Regions from separate parts of the Homo sapiens genome. Here region 1 is linked to region 2. Evidence: promoter capture Hi-C in human tissues and cell types (Jung and others, 2019). All regions are on one chromosome and are shown on one strand. Each heading gives the region's core, a stretch centred on a gene start or on the middle of the fragment in contact. The rest is flanking DNA. Distances are from core to core; before and after follow the strand shown. Region 1 holds the start of ZNF513 (zinc finger protein 513). Region 2 overlaps GTF3C2 (general transcription factor IIIC subunit 2).

Evidence for each region. Contacts are between HindIII fragments. The study calls those that stand out against the background at their distance.
Region 1: a contact is called between the fragment with the promoter of ZNF513 here and a fragment that was not itself captured in region 2, in 12 of the 25 tissues and cell types used here (H1 embryonic stem cells, IMR-90 fibroblasts, bladder and 9 more).

What each region holds. Positions count from the first base shown.
Region 1 is chr2:27,377,280-27,382,165 of GRCh38, reverse strand. ZNF513 (zinc finger protein 513) reads left to right here and starts at 1,432. Exons shown (of 4, transcript NM_144631.6): 1 at 1,432-1,694; 2 at 1,918-2,073; 3 at 3,112-3,699; 4 at 3,795-4,886. The coding sequence starts at 1,640. The coding sequence ends at 4,621. PPM1G (protein phosphatase, Mg2+/Mn2+ dependent 1G) reads left to right here. Exons shown (of 10, transcript NM_177983.3): 9 at 1-40; 10 at 361-967. The coding sequence ends at 567. It overlaps SNX17 (sorting nexin 17), which reads right to left. Exons shown (of 15, transcript NM_014748.4): 15 at 4,631-4,886. RefSeq lists a silencer at 1,460-1,679 and enhancers at 2,820-3,690, 4,305-4,464. The HindIII fragment of the contact is 10,400 bases long and covers 1-4,886 here.
Region 2 is chr2:27,343,821-27,348,591 of GRCh38, reverse strand. The region is part of intron 1 of GTF3C2 (general transcription factor IIIC subunit 2); the gene reads left to right. Among named protein-coding and RNA genes, the nearest start is that of GTF3C2, 11 kb to the left of the region's middle. The HindIII fragment of the contact is 7,211 bases long and covers 1-4,771 here.

The DNA of each region.
Region 1 (4,886 bases), core at 183-2,682, 33 kb before region 2:
AAATGGGGAGCTTCGGTTATTGTCATCCATTGTGGAAGAGGTGAGTACCAGGGTGGAGAAGAGAGGGTGTCTGGTCTGCACAGCCAGGGTTCACTCTTTTAATCTGAGCTAAGTCGGCAATCTGGGAGCATTATCAGTAATTGCTGACAGACGCTAAACCCCGACTCCAAAGTTCCACCTTCTGTCATTTCCCTGACTTAGCCTTATGCCTTATGGACTAGCAGGTGGGCCGTTGTGTGATACCTCTTGCCCATTCCTCTCCTACCACCCTGACTCAGCAAGCCAGCCCTCTTGTGGGACTGTAGATTCCTGGCAAGGTGTTCAAACCCTGTGGCTGAGCTACCCCCATCCCTTTCTTAGCTGCTGGATCAGTGCCTGGCACCAGACACTTCTGGGGATGGTACAGGGTGTGACAACATGACCTGCATCATCATTTGCTTCAAGCCCCGAAACACAGCAGAGCTCCAGCCAGAGAGTGGCAAGCGAAAACTAGAGGAGGTGCTCTCTACTGAGGGGGCTGAAGAAAATGGCAACAGCGACAAGAAGAAGAAGGCCAAGCGAGACTAGCAGTCATCCAGACCCCTGCCCACCTAGACTGTTTTCTGAGCCCTCCGGACCTGAGACTGAGTTTTGTCTTTTTCCTTTAGCCTTAGCAGTGGGTATGAGGTGTGCAGGGGGAGCTGGGTGGCTTCACTCCGCCCATTCCAAAGAGGGCTCTCCCTCCACACTGCAGCCGGGAGCCTCTGCTGTCCTTCCCAGCCGCCTCTGCTCCTCGGGCTCATCACCGGTTCTGTGCCTGTGCTCTGTTGTGTTGGAGGGAAGGACTGGCGGTTCTGGTTTTTACTCTGTGAACTTTATTTAAGGACATTCTTTTTTATTGGCGGCTCCATGGCCCTCGGCCGCTTGCACCCGCTCTCTGTTGTACACTTTCAATCAACACTTTTTCAGACTAAAGGCCAAAACCTAATCGTACGCATCGTGTCCTTTTTTTTCTGCTGCCGTGGCCCCCGACTTGGTCCCATCTGTAGCATGTGGCGAGCCCCCATGTGAGTGTGTGCGTGTGCTCGTGTGTGTCCTGCGCGTGTATAGGAGAGCCCAGAGCGAGCTGCTGGTAGGCCGGCCTGGCGGGCGTCGCGGCTGCCCCTCGCCCCCTCCTGCAGCCAGAAATGATCTAGTTCCCCCAGGGACAGGTTGGGACCGGTCTGGCTGGCCTGAAGCCTGGAGTCGGGCAGGACGCCTCCTGCGCTGCTCCCTGGCCGGCTCCCCGCTGCCGCTGATTGGCTTGCTCCCCGCCTCGTCACAATCACTTCCCGGTCACGCCATTGAGGCTCCCGCCGCGGCCGCTTCCCACGGACTACGCGTCCCGTGCGTCTCTGCGGCGGCGGAAGCGGAAGCGAGTACGGAGGTACCAGCTGGTCTCCGTAGGGGGGTAGGGGGCTCCATGAATGGAAGCGGCGGCGGCGGCGGGAGCGGCCTGAGCTGGGCGCCGGGGCCAGGGCCGGGGGCTGCCCAGGGCCCGCGCCGCTGCATGGGGGCGGCCCGCGGGCCCTGAGAGGAAGGGCAGACAGGCGGGCCGAGATAGGAGGGGCGGGGTCGGGCGGCCGCAGGCCGGAGGCGCGTCGGGCTGGAGCCGGTCACGATGCCCCGAAGGAAGCAAAGCCACCCGCAGCCCGTGAAATGCGAGGGGGTCAAAGGTCAGGGGTCAGGGGCCTTGAGGGGAGAGGAGCGGGGGTGGGGTCAGTGGAGTGGGCTCAGGTCAGGGTGGAGGGGGACTCCTGAGGGATGAAGTGGGCGATCCAGACTCCTAGCTTCCCACCGAGGCACTAAGGGAATCAGAGTGGGTCAGCGAGTACGGGAAGTGTGGTCCACGAGGGCTGGTTCCTGAGGGAGAATCCACAAGCCCCCTCCCCTCTTCAGTGGATACTGAAGACTCCCTCGACGAAGGACCCGGGGCCCTGGTATTGGAGAGTGATTTGCTACTAGGCCAGGATCTGGAGTTTGAGGAGGAAGAGGAAGAGGAGGAAGGCGACGGCAACAGTGACCAGCTCATGGGCTTCGAGAGAGACTCGGAAGGTGGGTTTTCGGGTCTTGGTTAAGGATTAGCGGCCGCTGGAGACCCCAGCCCTTCAGGAGGCAGGTTAGGTGAACAGAACACCATTTCCTGCCACAACCGAGGGCTGGTTTAGTTTACATTTGAGCTAGATGACTTCATTTGTTTAATGGTCCAATCACTTCCATCACTTTGTTGAGGTGAAGTTCTGAGGCCTGGTCAAAGGTGATAGGAATAGGAGGGTGGGTGAATCACATGGAGCAACTGATTAAAAGTAAATGCCCTGTCTCTCTCCCTAGCCCATTCCTTATGTGTATTTACTTTTAAGAGAGGTTCAGGGAAGCAAACTCTCTGTAAATCATTCAACCCAGTATTTAGGTCTAATCTAACTCCCTTTCACCTGCAGCGTAAGCTCCTTTTGTATTGAGAGGTTTTAGTTTCTGTCTTTATCCTTCCATGTCCCTCTTCCCTGTGATCTTAGCATCACCCTACCCTAATTTGCTGCACTACCCATCCACTTATGCAAGATGTTTTTTGAAAGTCATTGAGGGGATCCATGTAAATATCTGTTCTTTAGGCAGGCAAGTGGTATTACATGCATTACTTTCATTGTCTCCACTTCCCTCCAAATTTTGCCTCAGAGATAGGTTTTATTTTATATCAGCTCCTTACTAAAAGGGGCCTTAGCAATAGAGCTTAGAAAAAGGTCTTGGGGGCTCTCTCCCTTTCGTATTTTTACTTTCTTGTCTCAAGAATTAATTTCATTATGGATTCATTTCAGTCTGTGATCCACTGTGAGCCCTTGATCCTTGACCATTGAGGGAAACTAGATACAGGTCAATTCTACCATCACTAGATTAGTCCAGTGTAAGAGGTAGACAATTCATGTTGAATTTTCTGGAATTACTGCAGGGGAGACCTTGATTCCTAGGAGGGAACTAAAGGGATCATCAAAGCTAAGGGTGGAGCCAAGCAAGTGGGGAGACCATAAGTGAAAAGGGGAGAGTTTGGAGCCTGATCCTACCCTATGCTGATGTCTCTTCTTATGTCTATTTCACCAGGAGACTCTCTGGGGGCCAGGCCTGGGCTTCCCTATGGGCTGAGCGACGATGAGTCTGGGGGCGGCCGGGCACTAAGTGCGGAGAGTGAAGTTGAGGAGCCAGCCAGGGGTCCAGGGGAGGCCAGGGGTGAGAGGCCAGGCCCAGCCTGCCAGCTGTGTGGGGGGCCGACAGGTGAGGGGCCGTGTTGTGGGGCAGGAGGGCCGGGTGGGGGGCCCCTGCTGCCCCCACGGCTACTGTACTCATGCCGCCTCTGCACCTTCGTGTCCCACTACTCGAGCCACCTGAAGCGGCACATGCAGACACACAGCGGAGAGAAGCCGTTCCGCTGTGGCCGCTGCCCCTACGCCTCAGCCCAGCTCGTCAACCTGACACGACATACCCGCACCCACACTGGCGAGAAGCCCTACCGCTGTCCCCACTGCCCCTTTGCCTGCAGCAGCCTGGGCAACCTGAGGCGGCATCAGCGTACCCACGCAGGGCCCCCCACTCCTCCCTGCCCGACCTGTGGCTTCCGCTGCTGTACTCCACGACCAGCCCGGCCTCCCAGTCCCACAGAGCAGGAGGGGGCGGTGCCCCGGCGACCTGAAGGTAAGACACACCAGGGACCAAAGATCTTGGGACATGGGTGGCTGACCCTAGGAATGCTTGGATTGGATTCATAGCCCAGGTCTTTGTCCCCACAGATGCTCTGCTCCTTCCAGATTTGAGCCTCCATGTGCCACCAGGTGGTGCCAGTTTCCTGCCAGACTGTGGGCAGCTGCGGGGTGAAGGGGAGGGCCTCTGCGGGACTGGATCAGAACCACTGCCAGAGCTGCTATTCCCTTGGACCTGCCGGGGCTGTGGACAAGAGCTGGAGGAGGGTGAGGGTAGTCGGCTGGGAGCTGCCATGTGTGGGCGCTGCATGCGAGGAGAGGCTGGAGGGGGTGCCAGTGGGGGGCCCCAGGGCCCCAGTGACAAAGGCTTTGCCTGTAGCCTCTGCCCCTTTGCCACTCACTATCCCAACCACCTGGCCCGGCACATGAAGACACACAGTGGTGAGAAGCCCTTCCGCTGCGCCCGCTGTCCTTATGCCTCTGCTCATCTGGATAACCTGAAACGGCACCAGCGCGTCCATACAGGAGAGAAGCCCTACAAGTGCCCCCTCTGCCCTTATGCCTGTGGCAATCTGGCCAACCTCAAGCGTCATGGTCGCATCCACTCTGGTGACAAACCTTTTCGGTGTAGCCTTTGCAACTACAGCTGCAACCAGAGCATGAACCTCAAACGTCACATGCTGCGGCACACAGGCGAGAAGCCCTTCCGCTGTGCCACCTGCGCCTATACCACGGGCCACTGGGACAACTACAAGCGCCACCAGAAGGTGCATGGCCACGGTGGGGCAGGAGGGCCTGGTCTCTCTGCCTCTGAGGGCTGGGCCCCACCTCATAGCCCACCCTCTGTTTTGAGCTCTCGGGGCCCACCAGCCCTGGGGACTGCTGGCAGCCGGGCTGTCCACACAGACTCATCCTGAACTAGGTCCTTCTTCCCCATGTTTTATACAGACGGACCAGAAGCCACCTTTTTCTCCCCCGCTGGCCAGGGGCTCCACACAGACTAACGTAGGCACTATAAGGACCAGCCCAACCCCATGGGCGGGGGGGCCCATATGGACCAGGGGACCTTGCCTTGACTGAGGCACTTCACGAGCTCAGTGAGAAGGGCCCTGTATTCACCTCCACTGCCCCCAGGGGCTGTGGACAAACCGGCTGGGGGACTGCCCAGCCTCCCACCTGTTT
Region 2 (4,771 bases), core at 95-2,594:
CCTCAAGCAATCTGCTTGCTTCGGCCTCCCAACATACTGGGAATACAGGCATGAGCCTGTACCTGGTCCTATTCTTTCTTTTAATGGATGAGTTTAAATGATATGTGTTTATTGTTATGATACATGTTTTCGGTTTTTTTGTTTGTTTTTTGTTTTTTGAGACAGAGTCTCAACTCCAGGCTGGAGTGCAGGAACGCGATCTCTGCTCACTGCAGCCTCCACCTCCCAGGCTCAAGTGATCTTCTCACTTCCAATTCCTGAGTGGCTGGGACTACAGGTCCCTGCTGCCCACCATGCCCAGCTAGTTTTTTTTTTTTTTTTCCCTCAGACGGAGTCCTGCTCTGTCGCCCAGGCTGGAGTGCAATGGCACTATCTTGGCTCACTGCAACCTCTGCCTCCCGGGTTCAAGCAGTTCTCCTGCGTCAGCCTCCCAAGTAGCTGGGATTAAGGCACGCGGCACCACACCCAGCTAATGTTTGTATTCTTAGTAGAGACAGGGTTTCACCATGTTGGCCAGGTGGTCTCAAACTCTTGACCTCGTGATTGGCCCGTCCGGGCCTCCTAAAGTGCTGGGATTACAGGCGTGAGCCACTGCACCTGGCCCTGTTTTGGTATTTTTCTGTAGAGACAGGGTTTTGCCATGTTGCCCAGGCTGGTCTCAAACTCCTGGGCTCAAGGGATCCTCCCACCTCTGCCTCCCTAAGTGCAGGGATTACAGGCATGAGCCACTGGGTCCTGCCCTAAACTCACCCTTTTATAATGACACTGATCTGACTGGTCAGGGTGGAGCCCTTGTGGCCTAATCATCTCTTAAAGATCCCACCTCTTAATACTGTTACAAATGGGAATTAAATTTCAACATGAGTTTTGGAGGGGATGTTCAAACCCTAGCTCTTGGATTTCACAATCCATTTGATGTTTTTGAAAGTGCAGGAATTTTTTGTTGGAAATTTCCTTCTGTTTTCTGAATCACTTCTTCAAAAGGGTACTCTTCATCTTTCTATCCTTTTCTTTCGGTATATGCATAGGTCCTTTTGGCTTGTGACTAATTTTGAATGGGGTAGTTCTGTCAGGGCTTCTTATTTATCACAGGAATAATATAGATGGATTTTCACTGACCTTTATTTACCTTGGCAGTGTTATAATGTATCTTTAGCACATGTGTTTTCTTGTATCCTCAGCACCTGCCTCAGAGGGTTGGCCATTGCTATAGTTTATAATCTGGTTAGACTGTAGCTTCTTCAAGTGAGACAGTTGGAAGCTTTTATTTTATATTTCTTATGGGATTTGTATAAGCACACTTTTCCACTGAGACTGATGAATTGTTTATTCTTAAGGCGTATATATAGATCTGTGGGGGGCGGGGTCCCATCCTGGGATTTGAACTATGTCTGCCCCTTTGTCACAGACAGGCAGGTTATTCTGGCCAAAAACTGGACCCTTGGAGAGTTCTGTGTTGCTTAGGTTTCGGGTTTGGTGGTCAGTGATTTATCTTAGTTTACTTTGGCCCATGGTTATACAACTAATTTTTTGGGGTTTGAAGAAAATGAAGACTCATGACAATTTAGTCAATTCTTCAATGTGGAAAGGTTTCTTGGCCAGACATGGTGGCTTACACCTGTAATCCCAGCACTTTGGGAGGCCAAGGTGGGAGGATCTCTTGAGGTTAGGAATTCAAGACAAGCCTGGGCAAAATAGCAAGACCCAATCTGCACAAAAAAATTAAAAACGTATCTGGGCGTATTGGTGCACATTTGAAGTCTTGGCTATTTGGGAAGCTGGGGAGGGAGGACTGTTTGAACCCAGGAGTTAGTGGCTGCAGTGAGCTGTGATCACACCACCACATTCTAGTCTGGGTGACAGAGCGAGATCCTGACTCAGAAAAAAAAAATTTTTTTTAATTTTTAAAAATTAAAAAAGGCAAGGCATAGTGGTTTATGCCTGTAATCCCAGCATTTTGGGAGACGAAGTTGAGAGAATTGCTTGAGTCCAGGAGTTTGAGTATGTAATCACGCCACTGCACTCCAGCCTGGGCAACATGGTGAAACTTAGTCTCTACAAAAAATACAAAAATTAGTCAGGCATGGTGGTGCATGCCTGTAGTCCCAACTACTCAGGCGGCTGAGGTGGGAGGATCACTTGAGCCTGGGAGGTCCAGGCTGCAGTGAGCTGTGATTGCACCATTGCACTCCAGCCTGGGTTACAGAATGAGACTCTGTCTCAAAAAAAAAAAAAAAAAAAAAAAAAAAAAAAAAAAAAAAGGTATCAGAATGGGCACGGTGGCTAACACCTATAATCCCAACATTTTGGGAGACCGAGGTGGAAAGATTGCTTGAGCCCAGGAATTCAAGACCATCCTGGGCAACGTAGTGAGACCTCATCTCTACAAAAAATTTAAAAATTAGCCAGGCATGGTGATACATGCCTATAGTCCTAGCTACTTGGGAGGCTGAGGCAGGAGGATTGCTTGAGCTCTGGAGGACAAGGCTGCAGTGAGCTGTGATCACACCACTGCACCACTCCAGTCTGGGTGATAGAACAAGAGCGTGTCTCAAAAAAAAAAAAAAAAAAAAAAGTGGCGGGGCACAGTGGCTCAAGTCTGTAATCCTAGCACTTTGCGGGGCCAAGGTGGGCAGATCACCTGAGGTCAGGAGTCCAAGACCAGCCTGGTCAACATGGTGAAACCCCATCTCTACTAAAAATACAAAAATTTAGCTGGGTGTGGTGGCGGGCACCTGTTGTCCCAGCTACTCGGAAGGCCGAGGCAGGAGAATTGCTTGAACCTGGGAGGCAGAGGTTGCAGTGAGCCGACATCACGCCACTGCACTCCAGCCTGGGCAACGATAGTGAAACTCCATCTCAAAAAAAAAAAAAAAGGAAAAGCTTTCTTAACATAATAGGATGTTCCTTAATTGTCCCATAGTCTACCCACCACCCCCATCCAGGTGAAATATTGATAGCAGGGCACCAGAGAACTCTTTGACTCATTCTTTTTTTTAAAGACAGAGTCTCACTCTGTCACCCAGGCTGGAGTACGGTGGCATGATCTCGGCTCGCTGCAACCTCCACCCCACGGGTTCAATTGATTCTCTTGCCTCCGCCTCCTGAGTAGCTGGGATTACAGGCGCCTGCCACCATGCCCAGCTAATTTTTGTATTTTTAGTGGAGATGGGGTTTCACCATGTTGGCCAGGCTGGTCTCGAACTCCTGACCTCAGGCAATACGCCTGCCTCAGCCTTTCAAAGTGCTGGGATTACAGGTGTGAGCCACCGTGCCTGGCCAACTCATTCTTTTTAAAAAATAAATTCATTTATTTATTTACTTGAGACGGTGTTGCTTTGTTGCCCAGGCTGGAGTGCAGTGGTGTGATTACAGCTCACTGCAGCCTCGACCTCCTGGGCTCAAGGAGCCTCCCAAGTCTTCAGCCTCCCAAGTAGCTGAGACTACAGGTGTGCACCACCATGTTTTTTTGTAGCAAAGGAGTCTCACTCTGTTGCCCAGGATGGTCTTGAATTCCTGGACTCAAGCCATCCTTCTGCCTTGTCCTCTCAAAGTGCTGGAATTACAGGCATGAGCTATCGTGCCTGGCCAGAAAATTATTTTTAAATGTTTTTATTTAAAATACCATACCCAGGCTGGAGTATGGTAACACCATCATAGCTCACTGTAACCTCGAACTCCTAGGCTCAAGCAATCCTCCTGTCTCAGCCTTCCAAGTAGCTGGGACTACAGGTGCGCACCACCATGCCCGGCTAACTTTTAAAATTTTTTGTAGAGATGAGGTCTCCCTATGTTGCCCAGACTGGTCTTGAACTCCTGGCCTCAAGCAGTCCTTCTTCCTTGGCCTCTCAAAGTGTTGGAATTACAGGCATGAGCCATCCTGCCTGGCCTTTTACTTATTCTTAAATAAACTTATTCCTTGACTAATCTTTACAGAAAGAGATGTTAACATTAAGTATGCCTCTTCACTTTGGTCTAAATTTTGTAGTATCTGGCAGCTCTTTTTTGTAGTATATTTTGAGGAAGTTGGTGTCCCTTTCCTAGATTCATGCTAGACAAATTTTTCTCTCTCTTCTTTTTTGGAGTGTGTGTATGTCTGTGTGTGTGTGTTTTATTTCATTGGGTTTCAGAGACAGAGGTTAAATAATTGTGCATTCACTGCTTCATCCTTACAAGAAAATATATGAGCTTTAAATTAGATAATGTATGTATAGCACTTAGTATAGTGCTTGGCACATAGTTAGCATTTAATAAATGGAAGCTTTATGGCCAGGCGCAGTGACTCATTATCTGTAATCCCAGCACTTTGGGAGGTTGAGGCGGGTGGATCACCTGAAGTCAGGAGTTTGAGACCAGCCTGGCCCACATGGTGAAACCTCATCTCTATTAAAAATACAAAAATTAGCTGGGCGTGGTGGTGCGCACCTTGATCCCAGCTACTCAGGAGGCTGAGGCAGGAGAATTGCTTGAACCCAGGAGGTGGAGGTTGTAGTGAGCTGAGATTGCCCCATTACACTCCAGCCTGGGCAACGAGAGTGAAACTCCGTCTTTAAAAAAAAAAAAAAATGGAAGCTTTATTTGTTTACTTGTTTATTGTCTGCTTCACCAAAATGTAAGTTCCATGAGGGCAGGGACCTTGTCTGTCTTGTTTATTGTCATATCACCAGTTTCCTTTTTTGTTTTTAATTTTTTTATTTTATTTTATTTTGCTAGAGAAGGGGTCTTGCTGTGTTGCCCAGGCTAGCCTCAAACTCCTAAGCTCAAGCTGCCT